4 separate regions of the Homo sapiens genome follow, and regions 1, 2 and 3 are each linked to region 4. The links are contacts of gene promoters, found by promoter capture Hi-C in human tissues and cell types (Jung and others, 2019). All regions are on one chromosome and are shown on one strand. Each heading gives the region's core, a stretch centred on a gene start or on the middle of the fragment in contact. The rest is flanking DNA. Distances are from core to core; before and after follow the strand shown.

The links. Contacts are between HindIII fragments. The study calls those that stand out against the background at their distance.
Region 1: a fragment that was not itself captured here is called in contact with the fragment with the promoter of TRIM56 in region 4 in 8 of the 25 tissues and cell types used here (IMR-90 fibroblasts, aorta, dorsolateral prefrontal cortex and 5 more).
Region 2: a fragment that was not itself captured here is called in contact with the fragment with the promoter of TRIM56 in region 4 in 1 of the 25 tissues and cell types used here (thymus).
Region 3: the fragment with the promoter of CLDN15 here is called in contact with the fragment with the promoter of TRIM56 in region 4 in 2 of the 25 tissues and cell types used here (heart right ventricle and stomach).

Annotation. Positions count from the first base shown.
Region 1 is chr7:101,278,142-101,282,207 of GRCh38, forward strand. No RefSeq gene overlaps it. Among named protein-coding and RNA genes, the nearest start is that of LNCPRESS1, 19 kb to the right of the region's middle. The HindIII fragment of the contact is 6,351 bases long and covers 1-4,066 here.
Region 2 is chr7:101,259,947-101,264,289 of GRCh38, forward strand. No RefSeq gene overlaps it. Among named protein-coding and RNA genes, the nearest start is that of FIS1, 17 kb to the left of the region's middle. The HindIII fragment of the contact is 6,396 bases long and covers 1-4,343 here.
Region 3 is chr7:101,236,537-101,240,800 of GRCh38, forward strand. CLDN15 (claudin 15) reads right to left here and starts at 1,266. Exons shown (of 5, transcript NM_014343.3): 1 at 829-1,266. The coding sequence starts at 1,045. It overlaps FIS1 (fission, mitochondrial 1), which reads right to left. Exons shown (of 5, transcript NM_016068.3): 4 at 3,606-3,711; 5 at 2,936-3,367. The coding sequence ends at 3,270. RefSeq lists an enhancer at 3,384-3,927. The HindIII fragment of the contact is 32,734 bases long and covers 1-4,264 here.
Region 4 is chr7:101,082,179-101,086,746 of GRCh38, forward strand. It overlaps TRIM56 (tripartite motif containing 56), which reads left to right and starts at 3,303. Exons shown (of 3, transcript NM_030961.3): 1 at 3,303-3,393. RefSeq lists enhancers at 1,660-2,160, 2,864-2,913. The HindIII fragment of the contact is 14,444 bases long and covers 537-4,568 here.

The DNA.
Region 1 (4,066 bases), core at 604-3,103, 190 kb after region 4:
TGGGAGACAGAGCAAGACTCCGTCTCAAAAAAAAAAAAAAATTAGCCAGGTATGGTGATGTGTGCCTGTAGTCCCAGCTACTCAGGAAGCTGAGATGGGAGGATCACTTGAGCCCAGGAGGTCAAGGCTGCAGTGAATTATAATCATGCCACTGCATTCCAGCCTGGGCAACAGAGCAAGACCCCATCTCTTAAAAAAAAAGAAAGTTACCACTTTGGGGAAATTGCAGACTCTAAGCCTAAACTCTACTGGCCCGATACACATGGCAAAATATTTGGTCAGGATTCTGGAAGAATATCAAAGAATTCACAGGGCAGAGGAAAGCTTTGAATATTATGAATGAGGGAAAATTTCCATTCATCTCATAATTCATACTAGAGAGACTCCCAATGAATGGCACCAGCGGAGGAAAATCCTCAGACGGAGGCAAGCAGTTATCGGAGATGCGAAAATCACAGGGGAGGACGTGGCACAGAATAGCGTGGAACCCACGTCACAGCTTGCGCCCAAGAGCATCACACGGGAGAGAACCTGCGTCCTCAATGAACGGCGTTCCAAAAAAGCACAACCGCACCAAGCATCAGATAAGCCATTCTGAGCTCAGTCTTTGGAATGTAATGAATTGGGGGTGGTGATCATTTGAGAAGAAATCAGCCCTTATTCATCAGCTGATGATTCCCACTGGAGAGAGGGCGGGTGCTCGTCACGGATGACGAAGCTCTGGGGGTGCTCCGATCACATATAACACAAGAGGCTGCAGAGGGGACCCAAGGGGGGCTGTCAGGGGGCCTCAGGGTACACGTGACATAAAACGGTTACAAGAGGAAAACATGATGAAAAGGGCAAATTTAGAAAGTGATTTCAGGCTGGGCACTGTGGCTCGCACCTGTAATCCCAGAACTTTGGGAGGCTGAGGTGCGGCGGGGCAGGGGAATCACTTGAGGCCAGGAGTTCAAGACAAGCCTGGGCAACATAGCAAGACCCCATCTCTACCAAAAATCAAACATAAATCAATAAAACATTTTTAAAAGCTTTTCTTTTTTGGAACTTGTCCTGTTAGCACCAGCAATGGCTGTGGGGAATGCAGACACCCTTTGGGGGAGTTTGCTCAGATGACACAGTCGTGCACATGTGATCCTTGGGGCAACTCACAGGGGTGCCCTAATGCCATGTACAAGAATCCAGGCCCAGGCCAGGCGCCGTGGCTCACGCCTGTAATCCAGCATTTTGGGAGGCTGAGGCGGGCAGATCACCTGAGGCCAGGTGTTCCAGACCAGCCTGGCCAACATGTTGAAACCCCGTCTCTACTAAAAATACAAAAATTAGCCATGCATGGTGGTGTGTGCCTGTAGTCCCAGATACTTGGGAGGCTGAAGCAGGAGAATCACTTGAACCCAGGAGGCAGAGGCGGAGGTTGCAGTGAGCCGAGATCACACCACTGCACTCCAGCCTGGGTGACAGAGTGAGAATCTGTCTCAAAAAAAAAAAAAAAGAGGCTCGTGGCCTCTGGGGAACACGCCCCATGAGAAACTGTGGTGGTGGCTGCTTCGTTCATTCCTTCATTCTTTTCATATCTTTGGAGCATCTGTTCTGTGCCTGGCACTACTCTGTGGGGGGATAGAGGACAGGGCAACCTTGGGGGTCAGAGGAGGGTCAGGGAAGTAGCAGCTGCTATTTCAGATTACAGGTGTGTGTGTGTCCCAAGGTTCCAGAGGGGAGGGAGCTTAGGTGGGGGCTCTGGGAAAGAGGGAGGAAGACCCTGATCTAATGACTGCCTACCACGTGTCAGGCTGGCAGGCGATGTCTCACAGCAACCCTGCAAGCTTGGTCCTGTTTTCTGCACTTTGCAAATGGAGAAAATAAGGCACATGTACAGCTGGTAAGTGGTAGAGTCGGTACTGAGACTGGGTTGGCCTCACTCCAAATCCCATTTCTCTTATTTATTTATTTATTTTTAATTTTTATTTTTTTCTGAGATGGAGTCTTGCTCTGTCACCCAGGCTGGAGTGCAGTGGCGTGATCTTGGCTCACTGCAACCTCCGCCTCCTGGGTTGAAGGATTCTCCTGCCTCAGCCTCCCAAGTAGCTTGGCTTACAGGTGTGTGCCACCAAGCCTGGCTAATTTTTGTATTTTTAGTAGAGACGGGTTTCACCATATTGTCCAGGCTGGTCTCAAACTCCTGACCCTCATGATCCACCCGCTTCGGCCTCCCAAAGTGCTGGGATTACAGGCATGAGCCACTGTGCCTGGCCTCTTTTTTTTTTTTAATTTTTTAGAGACAGGGTCTCACTCTGTCACCCAGGCTGGAGTGCACTGGCGTGATCACGGCTCACTGCAGCTTCAACCTTCTGGGTTCAAGCTATCCTCCTGCCTCAGCTTCCCGAGCAGCTGGGATTACAGGCATGCACCACCACACCTGGCTAATCTTTGTTTTTTGTAGAGATGGGGGTCTTACTATGTTTCCCAGGCTGGCCTCAAACTCCTGGCCTCAAGCAATCCTCCTGCCTCAGCCTCCTAAAGTGTTAGGATTACAGGTGTGTGCCACCGTGCCTGGCCCAAATCCCATTTCTTTCCACCATCACAAGGAACAGAACTAGTCCTTCAGCAGCACTGTTCCCTGGGATGTGTCTGCAGAGGCTTGGGAGACAATGAGAGGCACCCAGTGAACAGGGAGGAAAGGGGGTGGAAGGACATGTACTGGCTTTTGCAGACCCTCCTCAGGGAACAGTGAACACATTCATTCCTTCATTCACACATTTAGTCAGTTTTTTGCAGCAACAGGATCTCGTTCTGTCAGCCTGGCTGGAGTACAGTGGCACAATCATAGCTCACTGCACCCTTGAGCTCCTGGGTTCAAGCGACTGTCCCACCCTTGGCCTCCTGAGTAGCTAGGACTACAGGCCACGCCACCACACTTAGCTAAGTTTTTAATATTTTGAAGAGATGGGGTCTCACTATGTTGCCCAGGCTGGTCTCAAACTTCTGGCCTCAAGCGATCCTCCCACCATGGCCTCCCAAAGTGCTGAGATTACAGGTGTGAGCCACTGTACCTGGCCATATTTAGTAAAATCCTTACTGAGCCCTATGGGGTGCCAAGCACAGCGTCGAGGTGCTGGGGATATGCATGCGTGAGGCTGACACGTGCTTACCCTCATGGGGCTTCCATCTGAGAAGGCAGGCAGGCACTCCAGCACGCTAAGTGGTGTGACAGGGGCTCATTGGGCCCCATGGAAGCTCAGAGAATGACATAACACAGACTCGCAGCGTGGAGGGAGACTTCTGGGAAGAGATAACTCCTTATGAAAGGCTGGGAAGGCCAGGTGGGGTGGCTCATGCCTGTAATCCCAGCACTTTGGAAGGCCGAGGCGGGCAGATCATGAGATCGAGATCGAGACAATCCTGGCCAACATGGTGAAACCCCGTCTTCACTAAAAATACAAAAATTAGCTGGGTGTGGTGGCGCACACCTGTAGTACCAGCTACTCAGGAGGCTGAGGCAGGAGAATCGCTTGAACCTGGGAGGCAGAGGTTGCAGTGAGCAGAGATTGTGCCACTCTGCCCTTCAGCCTGGGCCACAGAGTGAGACTCCATTTTTTTTAAGAGAAAAGAAAAGAAAAGAAAAAAGGAAAGAAGGAAGGAAGGAAGAAAGGAAGGAAGGAAGGAAGGAAGGAAGGAAGGAAGGAAGAAAGAAAGAAAGAAAGAAAGAAAGAAAGAAAGAAAGAAAGAAAGAAAGAAAGAGAAAGAAAGAAAGAAAGAAAATGCTGGGAAGAGCCTTCTGGAAAGGTGCATGCAGGAGGGTCTGCTGGTGGCAGAGCTGAGTGATCGCAAACGCAGCTGACATGAGCCCAGTGCTGTCTGGTAACAGTATGTGGGGTGGCGGGTGGCAAGGAAAAAGGCCGGAAGCGAGACCAGGGCATCCGGGGCCCAACAGGCCTTATAAGGAGTTCAGACTGGGTCCTAGGCAATGATGGGAAACCGGTGAAGGGTGTGAAGCTGGGGGTGATGACCCGTGAAGCCCGAGGCTGCAACACAAGGGGAGAGCTGTCCAAAGGTTCGCCAAATTCTG
Region 2 (4,343 bases), core at 680-3,179, 180 kb after region 4:
CTCCCAAGTAGCTGGGACTACAGGTTCCTGCCACCACCCCCAACTAATTTTTGTATTTGTAGTAGAGACGGGGTTTCACTATGTTGGCCAGGCAGGTCTTGAACTCCTGACCACGGTGATCCATCTGCCTCTGCCTCCCAAAGTACTGGGATTACAGGCGTGAGCCACCACATTTGGCCAATTCTGCGTTGTTAAGGATTGCTTCAGATGGGTAATGGTGGGGCAACCAGGCTTAAGTTCAAAATTTAATGGAATAATCTTCATTTGTAGGGTAAATTGAGGATACCCATGTGATGAAAGATGCTTGTTTGTTTTATATTAAAATCTTAGAATTTTATAGAAGGAAATGATTGAAGACTTTTTTATTATTATTTAAAAATTTTAGGCTGGTCACGGTGGCTCATGTCTGTAATCCCAGCACTTTGGGAGGCCTAGTCGGGAGGATCACTTGAGTTGCTTGAACTCAGTAGTTCAAGACCAGCCTGGGTAACATGGCGAAACCCACATCTCTATAAAAATTTAAAAAATTAGCCAGGCATGGTGGCATGTGCCTGTAGTCCCAGCTACTTGGGAGGCTAAGGTGGGAGGATTGCTTGAGCCTGGCAAGTGGAGGTTGCAGTGAGCTGAGATTGTGTCACTGCACTCCAGCCTAGGTGACAGAGTGAGACCCTTTCGCAGAAAAATAAATAAACAAATAAATTTTAAAAATAGAGATGGAATCTCACTCTGTTCCCTAGGCTGGTCTCAAGCAATCCTTGTGCCTCAGCCTCACAAAGTGCTGGGATCACAGGCATGAGCCACCACACCTGGCCAATTCCACAATTCCACATTGTTTTGTTTTTGAGGTCGCCCAGGCCGGAGTGCAGTGGTGTGAGCATGGCTCACTGCAGCCTCCACCTCCTGGGCTCAAGTTATCCTCCCACCTCAGCCTCCCAAGTAGGTGGAACTACAGGCATGTGCCACCATGCCCAGCTAATTTCCTTGATTTTTTTTTGTAGAGAGGAGGTCTCACTATGTTGCCCAGGCTGGTGTCAAACTCCTGGCCTCAAGCGATCTGCCCACCTTGGCCTCCCAAAGTGCTGGGATTACAGGCATAAGCCACCACATTCGGCCAACTTTGCATTGTTTTGTTGTTTCATTTTGGTTTGTTTTTGAGGCAGAGTCTTATTCTGTCTACCAGGCTGGAGTGCAGTGGTGTGATCTTGGCTCACTGCAACCTCTGCCTCCTGGGTTCAAGTGATTCTCCCACCTCAGCCTCCCAAGTAGCTGGGATTACAGGCATGTGCCAACACGCCCAGCTGATTTTTGTATTTTTAGTAGAGACAGGGTCTCACTATGTTGCCCAGGGTGGTCTCAAACTCCTGACCTCAAGAGATCCTCCCACTTTGGCCTCCCAAAGTGCTGGGATTACAGGTGTGAGCCACCACACCTGGCCAGTAATTGAAGATCTTCAATTCAGTTGCTCACTTTTTTTTTTGAGACGGAGTCTCACTCTGTTGCCCAGGCTGGAGTGCAATGATGCAATCTTGGCTCACCACAACCTCCGTCTCCTGGGTTCAAGCAATTCTCCTGCCTCAGCCTCCCGAGTAACTAGGATTATAGGCATGCGCCACCACGCCCAGCAAATTTTGTGTTTTTTGTCGAGATGGGGTTTCTCCATGTTGGTCAGGCTGGTCTCGAACCTGACCTCAGGTGATCCTCCTGCCTCAGCCTCCCATAGTGCTGGGATTACAGGCGTGAGCCATGGTGCCCGGACGAGTTGCCCATTTTTTAATTGGCAAACATGATCAAAGAGGTTGGGTAATTTTCTCAAGGTGTGGTAGTGGGAATTGAAGCCTTTCTAGGTCTCTTGACTCTATAAATTGTCTGCAGTAATTTTTCTATTCGCTATTATCTTTTTGATATGTGGTAGGTCAACTTATTTTTTAAAAAGTAATTTTGAGGTAAAATCATCTGTTTCTGGTCAAAAGTCAGGTAGCTAAGTCCTTCATGAAGAGGAATGCCTGCATGAGCTAGATTACTCAAAGCGTTATAGTATAAAAGACACCCCCTCCCATCTCTTGGAAGCCTTCAAATGCTCGAAAGAATGTTCCAGAAGGCCGGCTGTGACTAGGAGCTGAATAGAGGCTGCTTCCTCTGAAAAATAAGATCACGTCAAGCTGGGCAAATCTGAGAGCTATGAACCTTCCTAAATGTCAAAATTGCTAAGGTATTTTTAAAACTCGGAGGCTTTTATTGACTTAACGACTGAGAAGATGAAAGCAGTGGAAAACGTGAAGAAATCACGCTTTTGTTAGGTGTTGAATTGCCGGAGATGTATCTGTGTCATGAACTGAATTGCATCTCCCAAATTTATATGTTGAAGTCCTAACCTCCAGGACCTTAGAATGTGACTATATTTGGAGATGGGGTCTTTAAAGAAGTTAAGTTAGAATGAGGTCATTGGGGTGGGCCCCCACCCAATCTGACTGGTGTCCTTATAAGAAGGGGAGATGGGGCCGGGTGCAGTGGCTGATGCTTGTAATCCCAGCACTTTGGGAGGCCGAGGCAGGCAGATCACTTGAGGTCAGGAGTTCCAGACCAGCCTGGACAACATGGTGAAACCCCGTCTCTACTAAAAATACAAAAATTAGCTGGGCATGATGGCACGCACCTGTAGTCCCAGCTACCTGGGAGGCTGAGGCAGAAGAATTGCTTGAGCCCGGTAGGTGGAGGTTGCAGTGAGCCGAGATTGCGCCACTGCACTCCAGCCTGGGCGACAGAGGGAGACTCTGTCTCAAAGAAAAAAAAAAAAGAAGAAGAAGGGGAGATGGGGCCGCGCATGGTGGCTCACGCCTGTAATCCCAGTACTTTGGGAGGCTGAGGTGGGGGGAATCACTTGAGGTCAGGAATTGGGATCAGCCTGGGCAACATAGCAAGACCCTGTCTCTCCAAAAAAAAAAAAAAAAGGTTGTGGGGTGATAGATTAGGACACAGACATACACAGAGGAAAGAGGACATGAACACAGGGAGAAGGTGGACATCTGCAGGCTAAGGAGAGAGGCCTCAGAGAGAATCAACCCTGGCGTCACCTTGGCCTCAGCCTCCCAGCCTCCAGAACTGTGAGGAAATAGATTTCTGTTGTTTAAACCATCCAATCTGTGGAACTTTGTTCAGAAAGCCCTAGCAAATTTACTGCAACATGCAAAAGCGGGCTAGCTCAGCAGGGCACAGTGGCTCACGCCTGTAATCCCAGCACTTTGGCCGAGGCGGGTGGATCACCTGAGGTTGGGAGTTTGAGACCAGCCTGACCAACATGGAGAAACCCCATCTCTACTAAAAATACAAAATTAGCCGGGCATGGTGGCACATGCCTGTAATTCCAGCTACTTGGGAGGCTGAGGCAGGAGAATCGCTTGAGCCCGGCAGGCGGAGGTTGCGATGAGCCGAGATCACACCATTGCACTCCAGCCTGGGAAACAAGAGCAAAATTCAGTCTCAAAAAAAAAAAAAGTCAGCTAGCTCATGTCTTTTTATTATTTTTGAGACAGGATCTTGTTATGTTGACCAGTTTGAAGTGTGGTGGTACAATCATAGCTCACTGTAGCCTTGACCTCCTGGGCACGAGGGATCCTCCCGTCTCAGCCTCCAGAGTAGCTGGGACCACAGGCATGCACCACCATGCCTGGATAATTTTTATATTTTTTGTAGAGATGGGGTCTCTTTATGTTTCCCAGGCTGGTCTCGAACTCCTGGCCTCAAACAATCCTCCTGCCTCTACTTCCCGAAGTCCTGGGATTACAGGCATAAGCCACCACGCCTGGCTTCATGGTACTGAAACACTCTACAGAGTACTGGTAAGTACACAATACAATTTTCCTTTAGATTCAGTTTTTCTATCCCAGAACTTGCTGAATGTGATTCCCAGGCAAGCCTTGTGCATTCCTGGACTGTTTCCGCCATGCATTCTGAGTGTGGGATGCAGAAACAGATTTTCAGATATGAGTGCTTTATTAACTCCCAAAAGGCACAAAGAAAAAGATCTTTGGTCCAGGCACAGTGGCTCACACCTGTAATCCCAGCACTTTGGGGGACCAAAGCGGGCGGATCACTTGAGGTCAGAAGTTGGATACCAACCTGGCCAACAAGGAAAAACCCCGTCTCTACTAAAAATACAAACATTAGCCGGGCAATGTGGCAGGCCCCTGTAATCCCAGTTACTTGAGAGGCTGAGGCAGGAGAATCACTTGAACCCAGGAGGCGGAGGTTGCAGTGAGCAGAGATCACACCACTGCACTCCAGCCTGGGTGACAGAGCAAGACTCGGTCTCAAAAAAAAAAAAAGAAAAAAGAAAGAAAGGAGGA
Region 3 (4,264 bases), core at 16-2,515, 150 kb after region 4:
CACAGTTCACGGTCGCCAGCGCTCAGTCTCTGGCATAGGGCAGACGGAAGGGAGACTGCCCCGGAGAAACAATGGGGCGGCCTCATCTTAGCGGGGAGCAGGGAGCGGGAAGGTGCCGCAGCCACAGAAAGAACTGCCCTGGGCCCAAAGAGCTGTTGGCTCCAGCCCTCTAAGACCCCAGAAAGACACTGTCCTGGAAGCCCCACACACCTGCACACACACCGCCTCCTTACAGCGGACGCTCAACCTGCAACTTGCAAGACGCCTCCCTTCACAGGGGCCCTTTATAGACATCAGCCGGACAAGGAGACCAGTGCCCCCCGACAGTGAGGCTGGGGAGTCTGTGGAGCCTGGAAGTTGATCAACCTCTAAGAATCCAAGATGGGGCCTCCTCCCCCTGCCCACCCCAGCAATCCCACCCCCAAAACATGCTCAACCGTACTGAGTGCCTATGTGTGTTAACATCACGCTAACATTCTGCACTTTCTCAGTCACCTGTGAACTGGGACTCTCACCCTAACCCTACAGGTGGGAGATGAAGCTGGTTTCATCATTTGCCCACAGCACAGGGCTGGGAAAGGGGGTCTGATTCTGGTGCCTGCACCTGTAACAGCTAAAAGCGCCACACTAGCGCAGGGGGCCACGTGTGGCAAGGTCTTCACTCCAGTTCTAGGCATGGGCCGCCCCCAGCACTCCTGGCTGCGGGAACTCAGACCCGCAGAGCTTAATTCAGGGCTCCCTGCATCCTCACGGAAGTACCCGCCCTCCCCTGGGGTCTCTGCAGCTTCCCCGCCGCCCTCTCTCCCTGGAGCGCTCCCCACCCCATACCAGAGAGGGCCAGCATGGACGGGAACTCCCAGCAGTTGTAGACGCCCAGGGAGTCGGTGGCACAGCTAAACCAGAGGTTCTCGAAGATGGTGTTGGTGGTGATGACGTTCCCGTGCACAGTGGACACTCGCCAGTAGCTGTTTGGCAGAGTCACCCCCAGCATCAGCAGCCCCACAGTTGCCATGAAGAAGCCAAAGGTTTCCACAGCCATCGACATGGTGGGATGCAGGACCCTGGGGGGCTGGTGCCCCAGAGAGGGGGAGGGGCAGAACCCCTAGGGAACTGGAAGGGGCTGCGGCTAAGGAGGGTTGTCCAGGCAGGCTGGGGTGGAATCAGCCTCAGCCTCTGCCTGCCTCTTCCTCGGGCTCAGGTCCGTCTCCACTTTCTGCCTCCCTCCTGCTCTGTGGGTCTCTCTGCTTCCTGGCAGGTCAGAGGAATGAGCTAAGCCTGCGCGCGGCAGCTGTTGACGAGATGGAGGGAATAACCGAAACGGGCCAAAAGTCCACCCCCTCCCCCCAGCCTCTGGGCTGCCCCGGGCTCCCCGCCCCACGAGGGTGGGGGGGGCAGACTTACCCTGGAGCCACTGACGGATACAGCCAAGGAGGGGCCCCCAAGGGAGGCACTGGGAACTGAGGGGAAGCGTCTGTCTCTGACTCAGCTTTCATTGGGGGCCAAAGAACGGAGTAAGAGGGACAAGGAGTGAAAAGATGACAGAGACAGACGTGAGAGCAATAAGGGACAGAGACGGAGAGAGAATGAACAGCAGCCTTCAGTGGTGAAGGACGGAGGAACCACGAGAACAATCTAAGATACTCAGACCAAGGGGTTGGGGCGTATGAGTCTCTTAAGGAAGATCAAGCTGGAATGAGGGGATGGGAGGGTAGGAGACCCACAGCTCTGGGCTCCATCCAGCCTGGAATGGAACTCGGCCCCACCATCCATTCACCAGGGAACTCAGGCGGGGAGTTTTAGTCCCCTGAGCTTCTGCTCTGTCAGTGACATACCCGACTGCTTACTGCAGGGGCTGTGGTGAGAACTGGGACCAGGGGCCGGGCGCAGTGGCTCTCGCCTGTAATCCTACCACTTTGGGAGGCTGGGCTGAGACGATTGCTTGAACTCAGGAGTTCAAGACCAGCCTGGGCAACACACTGAGACCTCGTTGGGACCAGGGAGTCAAGCCCCCCACACATAACCAGCGCTTGGCACCGGGAACTGTCCTGGATGTGAGTGTCACAGGGCTGAGGCCACCAGGGAGTCGCTCTCACCCAAAACTCAAATTTCCTCCTAAGTTGATCTTTGACTCAGCATCGAGCCTGGTCCTGCTGGCCAACAGCCTGGAGCGTGATCCTGTGGCTAAGCTCTGCAACCTGTTCCCAGTTATCAGGGACTGTCACCCACTCTATTCGTTAATGATGATGGATTAGCAGCCTCTGGTCCCCATCCCGAGCCAGTGCAGAGCACCTGTCCCAGAGCAGACACTCTCATCTCCTGCTCCGGTTCCCTAGGGCTCTGTCCCTGGGGGCCATCAGCGCTGGCTGCGCACCTCCCTGGCCCCACGGCCCTGCTGGGCTTCTCCGGCCTCCCCTCAGGTGTCTCCTCCCTACTCCTGTGCTGGCCTGGGCTGTGGAACGAGAGGTATGCGGTGAAGCAAAACAGGCCCATGCCGAGCCTGGCACGAGGGGGCGAAGCTGGCTAGGTGGGGCTGAGTCCTGACCTTCCAGCCCACAGGCGAGAGCTGGGGCTCCCTGGGCTCTGACCTCTCCCGGGACCCCCGCCTACTCCATGCCAGATGCAGGATTCCTTCCCCTACTGGGCTCCCCCTCCCCCAGAGGAGGAGGTAGGAGGAAGGGGAGGCCACAGGAAGACAAAGGGAGGGGAGGGTGGGGAGGAGGAAGCCAAGGGGGCCTGCTGTGGAAAACTCCACAGAAGTAGCTGAGTGGGTCAGAGGAGAATGCAGGCCTGAAGCCCGGCCTGGCCCCGAAGTTCTGCCCGCCCATGCTCAGGTCACTGCCTTCTCCCAGGACTCTGGGACCATGGAAAAGCCCCATGTCTCCGAGCTGCCCGGCACTCTCAAGGACATGGCTTCAGGAAAGGGAGGAAGGAAGGGTGTGGGCTCTGGGCTGCGGGGTGGACAAAGAACCCCGTGCCAACCTGGAGGGCAGGGGCAGGAGAGGACCAGGAGTGACGTCTCCGCCCCCTGTGCCCAGCGTTCAGAACCCACCCCTCCCCTCAACGCAGACACGGGGGTTCCCAAGCCACAGCCCCGTTTTATTTACACTCATCCCAAAGCACATGATGGGGCTGAAGGACGAATCTCAGGGGAGCAGAAATTAGCTGAAGGCCACAGAGGATAGAGACGGGGGGCAGGGGGAGAACAGGGAAAGGACAGCGAGGATGGACAGGCCCTCCTGGAGCGTTCTCCGTGGGCTCCCGCGTCTCCTTCAGGATTTGGACTTGGACACAGCAAGTCCGATGAGTCCGGCCAGTCCCGCCACACCCAGGGCCATGCCTCCCACGATGGCCATGCCCACGAGTCCATCTGGGGAAGGAAAGGGACAGTGTCAGGAGCCCGGCCCCTGCGGAAACCCTGACCGTCCCCTTCCGCCAGCCCTGCCCCTCAACAGAGGCACACCCCTACCTGGAGTCGCAGGGCAAGGGGCTCTAAGAACTGGAAGGGGTGGGGCTGAGGGGCTGCCTGGAGGGGTTCATTTACAGAGAGACCAAAGTGCCCAGGCGTGGGGAAGAGCGGGGCTGAACAAAGGGGCCGAGGCTGTCACCTTTCTTCATGGCCTTGTCAATGAGCCGCTCCAGTTCCTTGGCCTGGTTGTTCTGGGGCTCTGTCTGCAGCAACCCGCGGACGTACTTTAAGGCCTTCTCGTATTCCTGCGCTCGGGGAAACGCGCACGCGTCATACACACCGCAGTGTTTTTTTGTTTGTTTGTTTTTTAATAAGAGACGGGGTCTTGCTCTGTTGCCCACGCTGGACGGCAGCGTCGCAATCACAGCCCACTGCAACCTCAAACTCCCAGGCTCAAGCAGTCCTCCCGCCTCAGCCTCCTGAGTAGCCGGGATTACAGGCGTGAGCCACTGGGCCGGCTACACCTCAGTATCCACCACTCCCCCTGCCCACGTGAAGGGCCTTCCCTTCTTCAGCCCTGGGGGCTCCTCCCTCGACCTCCACCCACTCCCTCCCTCCAGCCCCACCCCACGGAGTAGAGTCCACAAACAACCCCAACTCTGCGGGAGATAACAGCGCAAGGCTTGGGCCTGCACCCAGTCTCTTGACGTCACCTTCCTCCCCACCCCCTCGCCACTCTGATCTTCCCTCGGAGTCCTCATCTGACACCGCTCTGCACCTCTGCACCCCTTCAGCCTTCCCGCTGTCCAGGGCTCCACCCTGGAGGACACAGTAAGAAGGTCCTGCAGCCCCAGAGGA
Region 4 (4,568 bases), core at 2,053-4,552:
TGCTGGCTCAGTGGATTCACATCCAAAAAGCTGAGCCTTAAACAAAGACTGAGCGGGATTATTATAAGCAAACTTATAGAAGCAAAACAAAGACAGTTAATCATATAATAACAGGTCATATAATCTATAGCATAACTGATGGCTTGGCATAACTCATGGCCTTGCATAGCTGGTGGCCGTATAGCTGCATTGAAAGAAAAAACAAGAACTGGCTAAATACAGACATTTGTCCTTCTTTTTTTTTTTTTTTTCCTTCACCTTTGCTTCGGAGGGGGACTGTCTGGAACCTATTCCTTTGGTTTTGACTTCTCGAGCAGCGTTATCTTATAACTGTCCTTGAAGTGAGTTTGTTAGGCAGAGGAAAATTTGTTCTTCTTTTCTTTTTAACCCTTATCTTCCCACATTCTGGGCCTTGGCTTTTACTTTTCTTGGAGTGAATGAATGCAGTACTTATTATTACTATTATTTTTAAATTTCTGCCTCAATGTTAACCCAGGCTGGTCTTGAACTCTGGGACTCAAGCGATCCTCCCACCTCAGCCTCCCAAGTAGCTGGAACTATAGGCACATTATTTTTTTTAATGACTTGTGACACAGCCCCGGGAGATCCTGAGAACATGTGCCCTCTTTCTAATTTTTTATTTTTTCCGTAGAGACGGGGGTGGTCTCAGTATGTTGCCCAGGCTGGTCTCAAACTCCTGAACTCAAGCAATCCTCCCACCTTGGCCTCCCAAAGTGCTGGGATTACAAGCATGGGCCACCACACCTGGCCTCATAATTTTGTTTACCAGTTGGTATAGGGCTAAGTTTTATAGACAAAATTATATGTACCCTGTAAATATAATTATGTAAAATACGGACAGAGACCAAAGGACATACACACAGGAAAGAAATAGTTAATTGTGTTACAATGATGATATGAGTGTTTTAAAGTATCCACATTATAATTTAGGATTAAAAACCTCTGCTGGGGGCCGGGCCTGGTAGCTCATGCCTATAATCCCAGGACTAGCCTAGGCAACATAGAAAGACCCCATCTCTGCAAACAAACAAACAAAAAACAAACAAACAAATGTCTGTGCTGGCCACTCCCTCTAATACCTATAGGACAAAGTCCAAACTTCCCTGCTGGAAGCCTTATAATGGCCTTCCTTGACCATTATATTAAGACCTTACGAGATTCACAACAGGGAATTTAATTTTAATTTTAATTTTTTTTTTTTGTAGAGAGAGTCTTGATCTGTCACCCAGGCTGGAGTGCAGTGGCATAGATCATGGCACATGCAGCCTTGAAGTCCTGGGCTCAAGCGAACCTCCTGCTTCAGCCTCCTGAATAGCTGGGACTTCAGGTGTGAGCCATCAGGTAGCTAATATATATATTTTTTGAGATGGAGTCTCACTCTGTTGCCCAGGCTGGAGTGCAATGGTGCGATCTAGGCTCGCTGCAACCTCTGCCTCCCAGGTTTAAGCAGTTCTCCTGCCTCAGCCTACCGAGTAGCTAGGAAGGCTAGGTTTTGTTTTGTTTTGTTTTGTTTTTTAGTAGAGACGAGGTTTTGCCATGTTGGCCAGGCTGGTCTCGAACTCCTGGCCTCAAGTGATTCTCCCAAAGTGCTGAGATTACAGGTGTGAGCCACTGCACCTGGCCTGTTTTTCTGTCTTCACCTTGGTTGCCCGTCTGGTTGGTAGCATTCAACAGTGCTGACCCCCTCGTCCTTCTAGAAGTGCAGCATTTCCTGCCTTGGCCTCTGTGACCCTCTCTCTTTTGGATTTCCACCTACCTCTCTGGCATCTATGTCTCAGCCCCTCCACCTTTCACCTGGACCCTGAGGTCAGGCTCCCTTCTGTCCTCTCGGCTGCTGCCAGAGTGAGCTCTTACAGCTTCAGTTTCCTACTTAAATTCCGCCATGTGGATAAAAAGGTACAAACATGCATAGGTATGTCATGAATTAATTACGGTAAAATGATAATTGTAGAACAGAAGTGGTGGAGATATGGGTGTTCACCGCAATTCTTTCAACTTCTTTGTGCTTTGAATTTTTCATAAAATGAGGCTGTGCATGTTGGCTCACGCCTGTAATCCCAGCACTTTGGGAGGCCAAGGTGGGTGGATCACTTGAGGTCAGAAGTTCGAGACCAGCCTGGCCAACATAGTGAAACCCCATCTCTACTAAAAATACAAAAATTAGCTGGGCGTGGCAGTGAGTGCCCGTAATCCCAGCTACTTTGGAGGCTGAGGCAGGAGGATCGCTTGAACCCGGGAAGCGGAGGTTGCTGTGAGCTAAGATCACACCACTGCACTCCAGCCTGGGCGACAGAGCGAGGCTTTGTCTCAAAATAAAAATTATTTTTTCATGAAATGTTGAGGGAAATCTCCTGCAATGATTCTTTTGTCTTTTTTGATAAAATGCAGGCTTCTCTGCCAACACTCTCGTATCCTCTCCACACACATCATCCTAAATGGGGATGTACCCTTGCTGCTCCCAGTACCTGGAACAGGAACATTCTTCTCAGTGTTCTCCAGCCCTCTATGCCCTCTTACTGTTTTATTTTTTAGACAGGGTCTTGCTCTGTCATCCAGGCTGGAGTGCAGTGTCACCATCATGGCTCACTGCAGCCTCGACCTCCCAGGTTCAAGTGATTCTCCTGCCTCAGTCTCCTGAGTATCTGGGATTACAGGTATGCGCTACCATGCACGGCTAGCGAATTTTTTATGGAGACTGGGTCTCACCATATTGCCCAAGCTGGTCTTGAACTCCTGGGCTGAAGCAATCCTCCCGCCTTCTTTAAACTCATCTCATTGATGCCTTCTCCAGGAAGCCTGTGCTGTTCCCTCAGCAAGAGGCTTCTTACCTGATCCCCCACAGCCTCTCCTACAGCTCAGCAACGGTTTATGGAATGAAAGGCCTCTCTTGAAGCTTTGCAGGCACCTGCCTGCCTGAGGTGTTAGCAAATCTGCAGACCCGCCCTGAGGCCATGTGTCTAGTTACCCTGGTCTCTGAATCACAGATGAGCTCTCATTTCTTCCCACAAATAAACCCTGTGACCCTCCACCCTCTACTCAGAGAACCCGCCCTCAGGTAGTTCCCTGTTTGTGACATACACACACTTAGCCCTGAGGCTGGACTGACAGGCCGACCTGGCTGGTGGACTCCAGCCCAAGCCTGCCAGCTGCCTGCCGGGGTGGGGGCCTTGGCGGGAGAGGACGGGGCCGGGTGGGGAGGAAGGCGGGGCCTGAGGCTGTGCGAGGCGAGTCGGTGTGTCCCTGGCTGGGACGGAAGTTGCACCACAAGTACAATTAGTTTCAGTTTTGTTTCTTTTCCAGGCACCCAGCAACGGCGGCCTCCAGGCCTCAGGCCCCCTCACCATCCTAGAGGTCAAGATCAGCTCTGGCTAGGTAAGGGGTGGGGGGCGGCACAGCTATAGGAAGGACCGAGCGGAGGGAGTAGGGGGAGGGGAGTGGAGAGAGAGCGCGGGAGGAGGAGGAAGGGAAGGAAAGGGAGGGCGTGAAGAGGCACCCGGAAGGCAGGAGGAGAGGGCAGGAGGGAAACTGCACTCGCCTCCCTCCCGCTCCGTGGCCACAGGTCCCCGCAAGAAAGACCCCGTCCCACTCTCTGAGGTCTCCTCCCAGCTCCAGAAAAGGGGACATTCCACCTAGTCTGCCCAACAAGTAGGTCTCAGCCACTGTGCCAGGAGCTCGGGACTCCCTCCCTCCAGAGGTTTCTGGAATGCATTCAGCAGGAAAAGCTAAAAGAACAGGACTCCAGGAGATAAGCCAAGGCCAAGTCTATCAGAGGGTGAGCCAGCAGCGGGAAGGGGACCAGCCCTTCCCCTAGCGTTTTTTCTGCCCGCTCCAGAATCCGCTTTAGAAACTGTTAAATGCAGAAAGTGGGGCCTCCACCACCCGCGATGCTGCCCCAGGTCTAGCAGAAGACAGGTGTAAGGCCAGGCGGGTGCGGTGGCTCATGCCTGTAATCCTAATGCTTTGGGAAGGCCGAGACGGGAGGATAGCCTGAGGCCAGGAGTTGGAGACCAGCCTGGGCAACATAGCAAGACCCCATCTCTACAAAAAGTGATAATTTTTAAAAAATGGGCTGGCTGGGCCCCTGGGCATGGTGGCTCACGCCTATAATCCCAGCACTTTGGGAGACCGAGGAGGGCGGATCACCTGAGGTCAGGAGTTCAAGACCAGCCTGGCCAATAGGGCCAAACTCCATTTCTACTAAACATACAAAAATTAGCCGGGTGTGATGGTGCGCACCTGTAATCACAGCTACTCGGGAGGCTGAGGCAGGAGAATCACTTGAACCTGGCAGGTGGAGGTGGCAGTGAGCCAAGATCGCACCACTGCACTCCAGCCTGGGCAACAGAGTGAGACTCTGTCTCAAAAAAAAAAAAAAAAAAAAAAAAGGCTGGGCATGGTGGCACATGCCTGTACTCCCAACTACTCAAAAGACTTGAGTCTAGGAGTTTGAGGCTGCAGTGAACTACGATCACGCCACTGCACTCCAGCCTGGGTGACAGAGGGTGACCCTATTGCTAAAAACTAAAATAAAATAAAAAGAAGGCAGG